2 separate regions of the Homo sapiens genome follow, and region 1 is linked to region 2. Evidence: promoter capture Hi-C in human tissues and cell types (Jung and others, 2019). All regions are on one chromosome and are shown on one strand. The core of a region is centred on a gene start or on the middle of the fragment in contact, and the rest is flanking DNA. Distances in the headings are between cores, read along the strand shown.

Region 1 (6,471 bases), core at 1,977-4,476, 260 kb before region 2:
GGAGGTTGCCAGAGCCTTCTTTAGCAGGCTCTGAGAAAAATACCTTTATTTTCAGCCTCTCAGTCTTCCAAACTTACATCAATTTTTGTGAATTTAGATTATATCCCTAGGGGAAAAGCATCCCCCAACACTGGGCTCACTTCTGTGAGTTTTCATCTCCCAAACCTTGGCCCTATAGTTATGCCTGTTTTGTTACGTCTCTAATACTTTCAGATGTTTTCACATTGTAATAATAGTATCTTCCTCTGAGGTGGATTTACATTTGTGTCTAGAAGAAAGCTAGGGGATTAGTAATTCCATATCATCTTCATCTAATCATAGATCGAGATGATCCAAAGCTGGTTTTCTTTTCTCCTTTTTCTTTTTTTTTTTTTTTTTTGAGATAGAGTCTTGCTTTGTTGCAGTTAATTGTGCAGTGGCACAATCTTTGCTCACTGCAGCCTCCACCTCCCAGTTTAAGAGACTCTCCTGCCTCATCATCCCAAGTAGCTGGGATTTCAGGTGTCCACCAGCACACCTGGCTAAGTTTTGCATGTATGGGGTTTTGCCATGTTGGTCATGCTGGTCTCAAACTCCTGGCCTCAAGTGATCTGCCCACCTTGGGCCCCCAAAGTGCTGGGATTACAGGCGTAAGCCACTGCACACGTCCTCAAAGCTGATTTTCTGTCTCTGAAAAGAATTTTTTAGATTCTTTCTGAATCCTTCTCAGTGAAAAGATTCATTTAAAGACCAGCAGCAGTTCCCTCCTTTATGCAAGACAAAGAGGGAGCTACTTCCACATATTAACCATCTCCATAACAGCTCCAGAAATCACTGATCTCTGCCATCTGTAGGAAAGACAGGCCCACTGTTCAGGGTATGTGAGGTTTGAATGAGAGAACCTAGACAAAGTGCTTGGTAAGTTGTTCCTTTTTTCCTTTTCCAAGTTATTGGTAAAGAATGCTCGGTACTTTTTGTAATGATCATGCTTCTCTCTTTGTTCCATCCTTTAGAAAGTTCAGAGCCAAATTTTAATCCTTCTACCAACTTATGATTCAGAACCTTATCATATATCCTTTGTGAAATGATCTTATCACAATTTCGTTATATTGTCTGTATTCCACGTGTTTCATCTATTTTCTTTAACTCTTGTTGTATTGTATGTGTTCATATAAGCCTCTCTCAATCACTTTCATAGGAGGTGGTACATAAAGAAACAAATTAAATAATTTAAATAAAAGTATTTTGAACTATGATATGCCATAAATGTGATAGAGAATATAGATATTAGTTCAGGATTGAGCCACTTCCCTGGGCTAGCAGGACTTCAAGGTCCCTGTCTTCCCATGCCCCTCACTGACATCAAATTGGACCTTAAAAGTCCAATCCAAGATCCATTTTTCAGAAAGCCTTCCCTGACCTCCCTGCATGAACGTCTTGCCTTAATCACATTGAGCCTCATATTGCTGGACATGACTGCCCTACCACATACTCTCTTTATGCATTTGTAACATCCACAATGCCTAGAAAAGAAATTATCTTGAATTGAATTTTTCACACCTTTACTGGGCAATAATTAGCATGCAATAAACTGCACATATTTAAAGTATACAGTTTGGTAAGTTTCGACATATGTATATACCTATAAAACCTTCACCACCATCAAGATAATGCACATATCTACTGCAATTAGTTTACCTATTCACTTGTTAATGACATTAAGATTGTTTGAAATTGCTGACTATTAAAAATAAAGCTGACATGAACGTTCTTGTATAAGTGTTTGTATGGACATATTCTTCCTTTTCTCTTGGATGAATATGTAGAAGTGGAATAGTTGGGTCATATAGCTTTTTAAGAAACCAATAAACTGTTTTCCAAAGTGGTTGTGCCATTTTACATTCTTATCATCAGCAGTATAAGACAATTTTAGTTCTTCCACAACTTCTCCAACACTTAGTGTGTTCATTCTTTTTAATTGTAGCCATTCTAACAGGTGTGCTATCTTATTGTGGCTTTAATTTGCACTTACGTACTGACAAATGATGTTGGGCATCTTTTCATGTGTTTTTTGGGGGAGGGGGGAGGGTGGAGGCAGGCATTTGTTTATCTTCTTTGGTGTCCAAATCTTTTGCTCATTTAGAAAATTGCATTGTTTTCTTGTAATTGAGTTCTGAGTATTCTTTATGTTTTCTGGACACAAGTTCTTTATCATATACAGGATTTATAAATGTTTTCTCCCTGACTATGGATTATCTTTTCATTTTCTTAGATGTCTTTTGAAGAACAGAAATTTTTAACTTTGATGTAGTACAACTTACCAATTTGTTCTTTTATAGATTGTGCTTTTGCTGCTAAATCTAAAGAATTTTTGACTAATCCAAAGTCACAAGAGTTTTCCTTGAGAAGTTGTGTAGTTGTACACTTAGATCCAGGGTCCATTTTTAGTTAAGTTTTAATTATGAAGTGAGGTATGAATCCAAGGGTTTTTGTTGTTGTTGTTGTTGTTTGATTTTTGTTTTGGTTTTTTGGGTTTTTTGTTTTTATTTTGTGTTTTTTGTTTTGTTTTGCCCCGTTTTTTTTTGCTGTTTGGCTACCCAACTACTATAGCACCATCTCTTTAAAAGACTATTTTATCTTAACCAAATTGCTGTTGTACTTTGTTGAAAATCAATTGTCCATATATACATGGGTCTTTTCAAGACTTTCTATTCTGTTCCATTGATCTATTTTTCGATCTTCTATCTTTACATCAATACTATACTGTCTGAATTGCCATAGCTTTATATAAATTTGAAATCAGATAATATTAATCCTCCAATTTTGTTCTTTTTAAAAGTTATTCTGGCCATTTTTAATCTGTTTCATTTTATATTAATTTTAAAATTGGTTTATAAATTTTACCTAAAACAAAGCAGCTGGAATTTTGATTGTGAATGCCTTAAGTTTATAGATCATGTTGGGGAGAAAATCTTAATAAAGTTGAATCTTTTAACCCATGAATATGGTATATATTTATTATTTAGATCGTCTTTAATTTCTTCCAGCAATGGTTTGCAGTTTCCAGTAGAGATCTTTTAAATCTTCTGTCCCTGATTTATCCCCAAGTATTTTCATTTTTTATGCTATTGTAATTAGTAATCTTTAAAAATTTCAAGTTCCAAGAGTGTGTTGCTGGTGTATGGAAATACAACTTGTTTTTGTATATTGATCTTGTATTCTGCAACTTCACTAAGCTTTCTTATTAGTTCTAGTTGCTTTTGTTGTTATTGCTGAGACTGGGTCTCCCTCTGTCACCAAAGCTGCAGTGCAGTGGTGGGAACACAGCACACTACATCATTGGCTTCCTGGGCCCAAGCAATCCTCCCACCTCAGCCTCCTGTGTAGCTGGGACCACAGATGCTTGCCACCACACCTAGCTAACTTTTTGTAGAGATGGGGCCTTACTCTACTGCCCAGGCTGGACTCGAACTCCTGAGCTCAAGTGATCCTCCTGCCTCAACCTCTCAAAGTCCTGGGATTACAAGCATGAGCCATTGCACCTAGTTTGTTGCTTTTTGTAAATTCCATTGGATGTTTCTACCTAGATAATCATGTCATCTATGAATAAATACATTCTTCATTTGTAATCTGGATAACATTTAGTTCTTCTTGAATTGAACTGAGGTTTACTGGACCTGGATGTACAGGGACTTGAATTTTTTTTGTTTTTTTTCTGAGGCTTACTCTGTCACCCAGTCAGGAGTGTAGTGCAGGATCATGGTTAAGTACAGCCTTAATCTCCCAGGCTCAAGAGATCCTCTCACCTAATTTTTTTTTTTTTTTTTTTTTTTTTTTGTAGAGGCAAGGTCTTACTATGTTGCCCAGACTGGTCTCAAACTCCTGGCTCAAGCAGTCCACCCACTTCTTCCTCCCAAAGTACTGGGATTACAGGCATGCACCAACATGCCCAGCCAGGAACTGAATTTTAATGCCAACTCGGCCATAACTCACTGTATTAACCTTTGGCAAATCACTTTTCCTCTCTGGACCCTCGAAAATGATCTGCATATTCTCTATGTAGATCTGCATATTCTCTATGAACATTCCTTCCCACTTCTAACATTCTAGAAGACTAAGAATGTACACAGAAAGGTGTGAGCACTCTTACAATTCATGGCTTCCTGCCTCCAGGCCTCTGAGTCCTACTCTCTTCCCGTTAAGTGATTGACTCACTGTGCTCCTGACAGTTGAACTGAACTGGCAAATGTCACCTTTTTTGTTCCCAATCTCCCAGTGAAATAAGTGAGTGGCTATATTCAGTCATTCTTTTGCCATTTATTGTACTGCCTCCCGTGAGCAAGGCCCAGTTTGCAGAGCAGGGTGGATTATCTGTTTTCTAACAAAGGCCAAAGGCCTTTAACTCATGAAAAAATCAGCTAACAGCCATTTACAAATAAAAAGCAACTACATTTGATATATTTTTAAAAAAACACTTTCCATTATCTTGCTTTCAGATTCAGTCCTTATTAATAATGTAGCATTATACTGTGCTGAGATGGGGTAGGGTGTGGCAGGCTAAAAAGCTAAAAAGACAACATAGCCCTAACTTCCAGGAACTTAGGAGTCCAGCGAGGGAATGGTCCGTTTGTTCTCCATCCATATGGAGAGGGACAGGCAGACAAAGCTACAGTGGAGTATGTTAGAAAAGACCTGAATCTTTGCAAATAGGGAGTCTGAGCAACCCCAAGCCATGGTGGAAATGAGGGATATAGTAGACTTTTTAAAGTCTTTTTGGTCACCTGGGCTTGGACCTCATTCCTAAGTTTGGGATGCCGCTCCTTTTGAGAAAGAGCCCATCTCCCATCAGAGGAAGCTTGTCCAGCCTCCTTGTCATCCAGAGCACATGGCCTCATCTCATCTCGGCCTGTGCAATCAGATGCATTCATTGAACTCTGAATCCAAAGCTGGTGATACAGAAACCATGCAGGTTCCTTTTCGCTAATGGAAGGCAATTGTGGCAGCAGCTACATCTGGTTCCCTGAGACAGTGGTAACACATCTAGTTTCTAGAACCCAGAATCATCTATTCCAACCCTGTCATTTTACAAATGCAGTGTGGAAATAATTGAAAACCACCCAAATGAGAACAAGCAAGGCTATTTATTCAGAGCTTCCTCTAGCGAGGGAGTCAGCCATCATCACCTGCATTTTGGCAGAGATGTCAAGGCAGGCAGAGGAGTAGGAAAGCTTTAGACTTGGATAAAGAAAAGCTTCAGGTATCCCCTGAATGGAGGCTGTTTGCATGGAGAAGCTGTAGGCATGCTGACTAGAAGTGGGCATCCTATGTGATTGGGGTTTATATTTTTGACTTTCTCTGGCCTATCCTAAGTTGGAAGCAGGGACAAAAATTAGAGAAGCTGTCAATTATTAATCAAGTCCTGCCCATTTGGAGCCAATTGTTAAAGGTGTTATTGCTTCCGGGGCTGATTGCTAGTGATAGTGATCTTACTTCCTTGAGAGTCTGACATATTGAGAGTAGGCTGGCTTCCTGGGCTGGATGGATTGGCTTCCTGGGCTGGTTGTTGCAGATTGTGGGTCAGAGTTCTATTTTTAGATATGGCCTGGCCACTGTCTGTTTGTATATTCAGTCTGTCAGCAGAATATGTACTCCCTCCAGAGAAGGGGAGTGGCCTATTTAAGGTCTAACCGCTAATACTAACCAGACCTGATAGGTCAACCTGAGATTTAACGTATTTATCTTGTCATCTCCAAAGGAACTTATGCTCTGCTTGTTGAAGAAACAAGATTTAGACCCATAGAGAAACAAAATTCAGCACAGATGTCACAGAGGTAAGTTGCACCAGGAAATTAATTGTTAGTGCTATAGCTTGGCAGGAAACCTCATCATTTTCCTCTGATAGTGGCCAGAGCTGCTGCTGGTCAGGTGCTTTGTATGTCCTGGGCATTCTACCCATCCAGCAAAGTCCAGGGGTTAAAAGCATGGCTCTCCAGTCTTCCCACGTGCATTCATATTTTATCTCCACCATTGGTAGCTAGTGAACTTGAACATGATATTTTACCTCTCATCTTCAATTTCCTCATCTGTAAAATGGGAATAATAATGGAAATATCTCATCATGCTCTTGTGCAAATTAGATGGCCAGATATTTGTAACATGCTTAGAACACTTACATTATAAGTACTGGTACAAATTAGCTATTGCAATCTCATTTAGTCCTCATATCCATTCAGTCTGGCAAGTAATATCCCCACCTTGCAGATGAAAAACTGAAGATGGTGATGTCCCTTGTCCAAGACAGTGAGAGTCAGAGTCAGAATTTTTACTTATGTCTCTAGGAAACTAAACCTCATTATTCCTTTCTGCTGTGCTTCTGAAGACAAGATGCCATTGTTGGGAAAAAGGACAAGAAAGTCCAAAAGTATGTAGGGCTGTGGTATCAGACCACCCACATTCATATCTTGGTTCTGACTTCTATTAGCTGTAAAACCT
Region 2 (7,379 bases), core at 2,819-5,318:
TCATCTTTCCCTCCCCCACAGATCTCTTTATTATCTCCAAAGTTTTGCCTTTTCCAGAATGTTATATAGTTGGAACCATCACTTACATACTATCAGTATGATCTTTTTCAGATTGGCTTCTTTCACTTAATATAATAATACACATTTAAGATTCCTTCATGTTCTCTCTCACTTCTCTCTTCTCTCTCCTTTCTTTCAGACTGAGTCTCACTCTATCGCCCAGGCTAGAGTGCAGTGGCACAATCTCAGCTCACTGCAACCTCCACCTCTGGGTTCAAGCAATTCTCGTGCCTCACCCTCCCAAGTAGCTGGGATTACAGGTGCCCACCACCACGTGTGGCTGATTTTTGTATTTTTTAGTAGAGATGGGGTTTCACCACGTTGGCTAGGCTGGTCTCGAACTCCTGACCTCAAGTGATCTGCCCACCTTGGCCTCCCAAAGTGCTGGGATTACAGGCGTGAGCCACTGCGCCTGGCTCCTGCATGTCTTTTAATGGCTTGATAGCTCATTTCTTGTTAGTGGTGAAGAATATTTCATCATCTGCATGTACCACAGTTTATTTATCCATTCACCTACCAAAGAACATCTTGTTTGCTTCCATGTCTTGTCAATTCTGGGTAAAGCTACTATAAATGACTATGTGTAGGTTTTTGTGTGGATATACATTTTCAACTCATTTATATAAATTCCAAGGAGAGTGATTGCTGGATTATATGGTAAAAGCATGCTTAGTTTTGTGGTAGTTTTTGTTTTGTTTTGTTTTACATTTAGATCTTTATCTGGAATTTCTTTTTATGAAAATATGAGGTAAACTTTCCTCCTAAATGGATAGGCATTTGTCCTGACATCATTTATTGCATCCATTTTTTCCTAGTGGTTGGAAAGCATCATCCACAGACTAAATCATGCAAGGTAACTGTGTGAGCCTGGACAAGTTAGTTAACATCTCTGTACTCCAGGTTTCTCACCTGGCAAAGGGGTTAACAATAACTGCTTACAGCATTGGTATGAAGGTAACATGAGGCAATGGGCATGGACACATTTGAAAAAGTAAAAATCCCGTATCCCTGAATCATCTGTATATGGGTGAAGATAACATGACTCTTTCTGAGGCTGTGAACACACTTGCTCATCTGAAAAGCCATCCAGATCCATCAAAGAATTCTCAAACCATTGGTCACATTTGAAATGTAGATGCCAATGATCCATATTTTCAGGGGATTTGCGTGTGGGCTTCAGTAGAAGGGAAGAGAAGGCTAGTGAAGGAGTAACTAGTAGGTAGCCATGGATGAATTATCAGTTTGGGTACCCTGTGGTCCTATAGACTTCAAGAGGACATAAATACCACTTGTTAGACTGTGAGTTCCTTGAGGGCAGAGTGCTTGTGTCGAATTTGTCTTAAAAATCACAGAGCCTGATTAGAAAGCTTCCAGTTAAGTTTCAATGAATTAAACTAAATTTTCTCCATTAGGACTCACTGGGAAGAGAAGAAAAAGGAAGTCTAAGGAAAATGGAATCTCTCATCTGGCCTACCCTTGCTTCCAAATACTTGGTACTCTTGTAAAGAATCCAATTTACAGCCAGTTGCTATCAAGTATAATTAGTGAAAACGATCCTTTTTCTCAGTAAATGGCAGCTTTCTTGGTATAGTTGCCCTGTGCCTTGCTGCAACTTGGCAGCTCAGACCCACCAGTGGGGAACAGTCTGGGAGCCCTGTGGGGTGGCTCTGGAGCTGCTGATGGAAGGCACAGGAATCAGGGCTTGCTGAACTTAAGGTTCAGGCTGCTTTCCCTGCAATAGGGTCAGCCAGCAGGGAGCAGGCAGGTCTGTGATGCAAGCAGAGAAGGTGGGATTGTGCCCACTGGGGAAGGGGGCTCTTGCTCTACCAAAGAGGAGGCTGGATGCCATGGTGCAGAATCCTCTGGGGTCTTGGCTCCTACTTGTCAACCACTAATTAATTTTTAGGTTTACAATTGATGTTTTCTTATCCAAGGACATCTGGTATACAAAAGTTCCCCTAGCTTAAAATGTTTAGTATTCTCTGAATAGCTTTCCTCTGTTCCCTAAGAAAGAGGCTTCCTCAGCAGCTGTGCTGCAAAAGACCCCAAATGTATTGCACATCCGAAGAGTGGCTAAGTGGGAGGTGAAGGGTGGGTACAGGGGTCTGTTGTAGGCACTGTCCTCCTCTGGGCTCCTTTGACATTGGCCTGGTGGCTGGGATACTTCAGAATAAAGGCCTAGTGGGTCACAGGTTTAGGAGGAGTTGGGGCTGGTCCCTAGGCCACTATAGGTGGTGGGCAAACATTGTAGAAGGCCTAATGTTTAGAAAGCCAGTGTGGAATTCTCCTTTGTGCAACTGCGTCACTGAATCAATTGGGATTTTTTATTGGTGAATGGACACTTGGAAGTTTTAATATGCAAAACATAATTTACTTTTATTACTTAAATTGCTTAATGTAATTTTAATATGCAAGACTTAATTTACGAAGAGCCAGGATTCCGGGTGTTTAAATCCTTGTCTCCAGGGAACACAGCTGTCCCTTTGAGGAAAACCTAATTTCTCTTCCCTGCCTGTGTGACTTTGGGACAAATCTGGGACAACAGTGAATTCTCTATTACTGTTATTACCACCCAAGTAAACTAAAAATCCGGGATGAGAAAAATCTTACAGAAAATTCTAGCTGAGGCTTCTAGCTTATAGTACAATGAATAGACCTTAATCATAGAATGCCTTTAAGAAAAACATTTAGGCCCGACTTGGTGGTTCACACCTGTCCTGTAATCCCACCACTTTGGGAGGCCGAGGCGGACAGATCTCTTGACCTCAGGAGTTTGAGACCAGCCTGGGCAACAAGGTGAGATCCTGTCTCTACAAAAAATACAAAAATTAGCCTGGTGTGGTGGTGCCCGCCTGTAGTCCCAGCTACTCGGGAGGCTGAAGCGGATGGATCGCTTGAGCCCGGGAGGTGGAGGCTGCATTGAGCTGAGATTGCGCCACTGCACTCCAGCCTGGGTGACACAGCGAGACCCTGTCTCCAAGTAAACAAAATAAAATAAAATAAAGAAAAATATTCAAAAAGCCCTCGAGGTTTTTTTGTTTGTTTGTTTGATTTTTTTGATACGGAGTCTTACTCTGTTGTCCAAGGTGGGGTGCAGTGGCACAATCTCGGCTCACGGCAACCTCTGCCTCCTGGGCTCAAGCGATCCTACCGCCTTAGCCTCCCCAGGCATGCGCCACCACACCCGGCTGAATTTTTCTTTTTTCTTTTCTTTTTTTTTTTTTTTTGAGACGGACTTTCACTCTTGTTGCCCAGGCTGGAGTGCAATTGTGCAATCTCGGCTCACCACAACCTCTGCCTCCCGGGTTCAAGCAATTCTCCTGCCTCAGCCTCCCGAGTAGCTGGGATTACAGGCATGCTCCACCATGCCCGGCTAATTTTGTATTTTTAGTACAGACAGGGTTTCTCCATGTTGATCAGGCTGGTCTCGAACTCCCGACCTCAGGTGATCCGCCCACCTCGGCCTCCCAATTCTTTTTCTTTCTTTCTTTCTTTCTTTTTTTTTTTTTTTTTTTTTTTTTTTATTTTGTATTTTTTATGGAGATGGGGTTTCGCCATGTTGCCCAGGCTGGTCTCGAACTTCTGGGCTTAAGCGGTCCGCCCGCCTCGGCCTCCCAAAGTCTGGGATAACAGGCTTGGGCCACCGCGCCCGGCCGAAGCCTGAACTGTTTATCAGTTCAATTATTTTTGCGGAATTGAACCGAACCGAATGGAATGGGAGCTTGCAGAGAGCTTCTACTCAAAGCAGTTCCTAAGGTTGATGGGGTGGAAGGAAATAAACAGAACAGCTATTGGCGTGGCCGAGTCGCTACGGACGGGGAACCCGAGCCGCTCGCGCAGGCGCAGAGCCAGGCCCGCGAGGGGATGGGAAGGTGGGGGGGAGGGGCGTTCCCTGGGCCCTGCCCCTCCCTGCCCTGCTTTAGTTCCAGGTACCGCCACTGGGGGCGGCCGCGGCCTCCCCAGCGGCAACGGCCACGAAGCTGCGCGGCCCTGGTTTCCAGCCGGGCCCTTTTCGCGGCCGGGCCCCAGCATGGCTGCCCCCACGGCTGAGGGCCTGGCAGCTGCTGCGCCCTCGCTTTCTTGACATTCCCTGGCTTCTGTGCTCTCTTCCCCAGGCCACCCCAGCAGACATGTTTGCCAAGGCCTTTCGGGTCAAGTCCAACACGGCCATCAAGGGGTCGGACAGGTGAGGGAGGAAAGGGGCCTGCTCTGCCACGGAACAACCAGACACCTCTTGGGCCCCGCTGGCCCATAGCCCTCGCTATTCTTGGCCGACATCCTCGGGTGGAGGCCGAGGGGTATGCCAGGGAAGGGACCCCAGGAGGCAAGGGTGGGTTAGACACATTTTGAGGTGAGGATGGAGGGGGACCTGGCTCTCTTTTGGATAGTCTAGTGAGTTTAAAAGAAAACGTAGTTAAGTCAGAGTTTACTGACTGCAGACTATTTAAGGTGTTGTGGAGAATGCAGAAGTGAAGGAATACAGAATTCTTGCCCTCCAAAGAGCTTAATGCCCCTTGGGAGAGATCGGATGGGATACCAAGAATTAAAAGTATAAGAGAAAAAAATGACTAGTGATTAATTCTGGCAGGAGAGACAGCTGGAAACTGAGGTGGGAGGGAATAAGGCACATGTGGTAAGAAGAACTGTATCTGTTCAGACAGGGTCACAAATGGAGATTGTGTTTGGAATTTTGTAACCAGTGCTTTATAGTTGTCTATAGGTCTCATGGCATAGTTATTTAATCATAAACTGGCATATTTGCGAAGCATGTATGAGAAAGGAGTGGGCCCAAGGGCTAGGCATGAAGTCAGGAAGGCAGGGCTGTTTCCTGTGTCAGGCTAACTTGGATTGTTCACTGGGCCTGTTTTCCCACCCATAAAATGGGAAGGCATACCCCAGGAATGAGTGAAAATAGATGACAATGGATGAAAAAGAGTTTAGGATGTTTCAGAAGAGTGTGTGTGAGACTAGGACATCATAAACCAGGCAATCTTTCTTTGGCCCTTGTGATTTTATAGTGAGCACTTTTGAGTTCGTTCTTGATATTTATTAAAAGTCTGTCCAGGCAGCATTCACAGTGCTGGTGTGCTTTCCACAGGAGAAAGCTTCGAGCTGATGTGACAACTGCTTTCCCCACCCTTGGAACTGATCAAGTCTCTGAGTTAGTACCTGGAAAGGAGGAGCTCAACATTGTGAAGTTGTATGCTCACAAAGGGGATGCAGTGACTGTGTACGTGAGTGGTGGTAACCCCATCCTCTTTGAACTGGAGAAAAATCTGTATCCAACAGGTATGACAACAGGACGAAGATGGCCATTACCATTAGGTAGTTCTTGCCTAACATCTGCTTCTCTCTGTTTCTTCCATTGTCTCCCATAAAATAAGCAAGCACGAAATCTCCCAATACCATCCCCAAGGATCTTTATGGACCTGGTGTTCCTAGAATTGGGTCTTTCAATTCTAGGATGCAAAAGGTTTTCTCTTATGCAAAACCACTATAGGAGGGATTAAAAAAAGGGCTGACATAGTAAGTAAGGGTGGTTGCAAAGGGAAGTTCTGAGATGAAGGAACAGTGGCTGAGAAGTTTACAGTGGGTTGACTAGGAATAGAGCAGAGGTCTTGAAAAGGATGGAATTTCAGGGCATGTCTTCATGAGACAGAGTCTTGCTCTGTTGCCCAGGCTGGAGTGCAGTGGCGCAATCTCAGCTCACTGCAAGCTCCGCCTCCTGGGTTCACACCATTCTCTTGCCTCAGCCTCCCGAGTAGCAGGAACTACAGGCACCCGCCACCACACCTTGCTAATTTTTTGCATTTTTTAGTAGAGACGGGATTTCACCATGTTAGCCAGGATGATCTTGATCTCCTGACCTCATGATCCGCCCGCCTCGGCCTCCCAAAGTGCTGGAATTACAGACGTGAGCCACCGCGCCTGGCCAAAAATATATATATTTTTTAGAGACAAGGTCTTACTCTGTCACCCAGGCTGAAGTGCAGTGGTGTGATCGTAGCTAACTGTAACCTCAACCTCCTGTGCTTAAGGGATCCTCCCACCTCAGCCTCCTGTGTAGCTGGGACTACAGGCATATGCCACCATGTCTGGCTACGTTTAAAATTTTTGGTAGAGACAAGGTCTCACTATGTTGCTCGGGCTGGTCTTGAACTCTTGAGCTCAAGTGATTTTCCTGCCTCAGTCTCCCGAAGTGTTGGGATTACAGGCATGAGCAGGGTGCCCAGCCTAAAAAATGTTTCTTAAAACTATCTGTAGCAGGATTTTCCTAAAATACTGAAAAGATATACTGTGATAGGAATAAAGCTGGATTGATAAGCTACATATCCAGCTGTTTTCATGGTGTACTTTAACCATAGGTCTCACAGGGATTTTTTAGGCTATGAGTGGCTCTCTAGGATTCTTTGCCTTCTCTGTCACAAATCTCAGGGACTCAGTCTCCTTTTCTCTTTTCCATAGCTGCTGACACCTACTTTGTAACTTGGGGCTTTTCATCCTCCAGGGTTGTCTGCAATAGTGCAATGCAATATCCTTAGGCCACTCCTGCCCCTGATCTCACTTCCTTGCTGTACCTGAAGACAACCACAATGCTTTTTGACCTAGGGGTTTTTGCTGCTAATCACTATGGAAACAGAGGGGATAAAAATGATAAACATGGGAAAGTTTCCAAATTTTATACAGCTGGCTTCCTGTTCTTAGGCTACTTGCTTCTGAAGCCGTAAATAAAAGCTTCATTGGTTCTCTGCCCTCACTTTTTTGTCCACTGTGACCATTTTCTGCTGCTGCAATCCGGATGCCTCCAAATCTCAAGTGACACTCAGTTTCTTAGGTTTTTTCCTTCCTCAAAAATGAAACCTCTCTGGGCATCCCCTTACAACCTTCTCTTTAGCTTTGAGTTGAGTTTCTTTCCTGTATTCTAATTAAAGTGACCATAGTGTTAGGTTTTTCCATTTCTCTAGAAGATTGGCTTTTTGGTAGTAGTGTTTTCTGGATCTCTTTTTGTACAGTGTACACGCTGTGGTCCTATCCTGATCTTCTGCCAACCTTTACAACATGGCCTCTGGTGCTCGAGAAACTGGTAGGGGGAGCAGGTAAGAGGATTCTCCTATATTCTGGCTATTGGCTGAAACCTACTTAGCAAAAGCCAACTGATGTAATAAACTTACCCATTTCCTGTGTTTTTGTGGTTGAAAAATGGAATTTTTTCCCCTATGTGTTTTATGTTTCTCACTTGGCTGGTTCCACACAAGATCTCTGGGCCCCTCTGGCCCTGTTGTAAGGCTTAAATAAGTGTTGTGAAAGTATTTTATGAA

Evidence for each region. Contacts are between HindIII fragments. The study calls those that stand out against the background at their distance.
Region 1: a fragment that was not itself captured here is called in contact with the fragment with the promoter of EIF2D in region 2 in 1 of the 25 tissues and cell types used here (thymus).

The regions. Positions count from the first base shown.
Region 1 is chr1:206,871,431-206,877,901 of GRCh38, reverse strand. No RefSeq gene overlaps it. Among named protein-coding and RNA genes, the nearest start is that of IL20, 9.0 kb to the right of the region's middle. The HindIII fragment of the contact is 5,366 bases long and covers 544-5,909 here.
Region 2 is chr1:206,609,154-206,616,532 of GRCh38, reverse strand. It overlaps EIF2D (eukaryotic translation initiation factor 2D), which reads left to right and starts at 4,068. Exons shown (of 15, transcript NM_006893.3): 1 at 4,068-4,246; 2 at 5,159-5,349; 3 at 7,074-7,157. The coding sequence starts at 4,191. RefSeq lists a silencer at 3,806-4,015 and enhancers at 4,306-4,375, 6,786-6,845, 6,886-6,985. The HindIII fragment of the contact is 7,443 bases long and covers 1-5,980 here.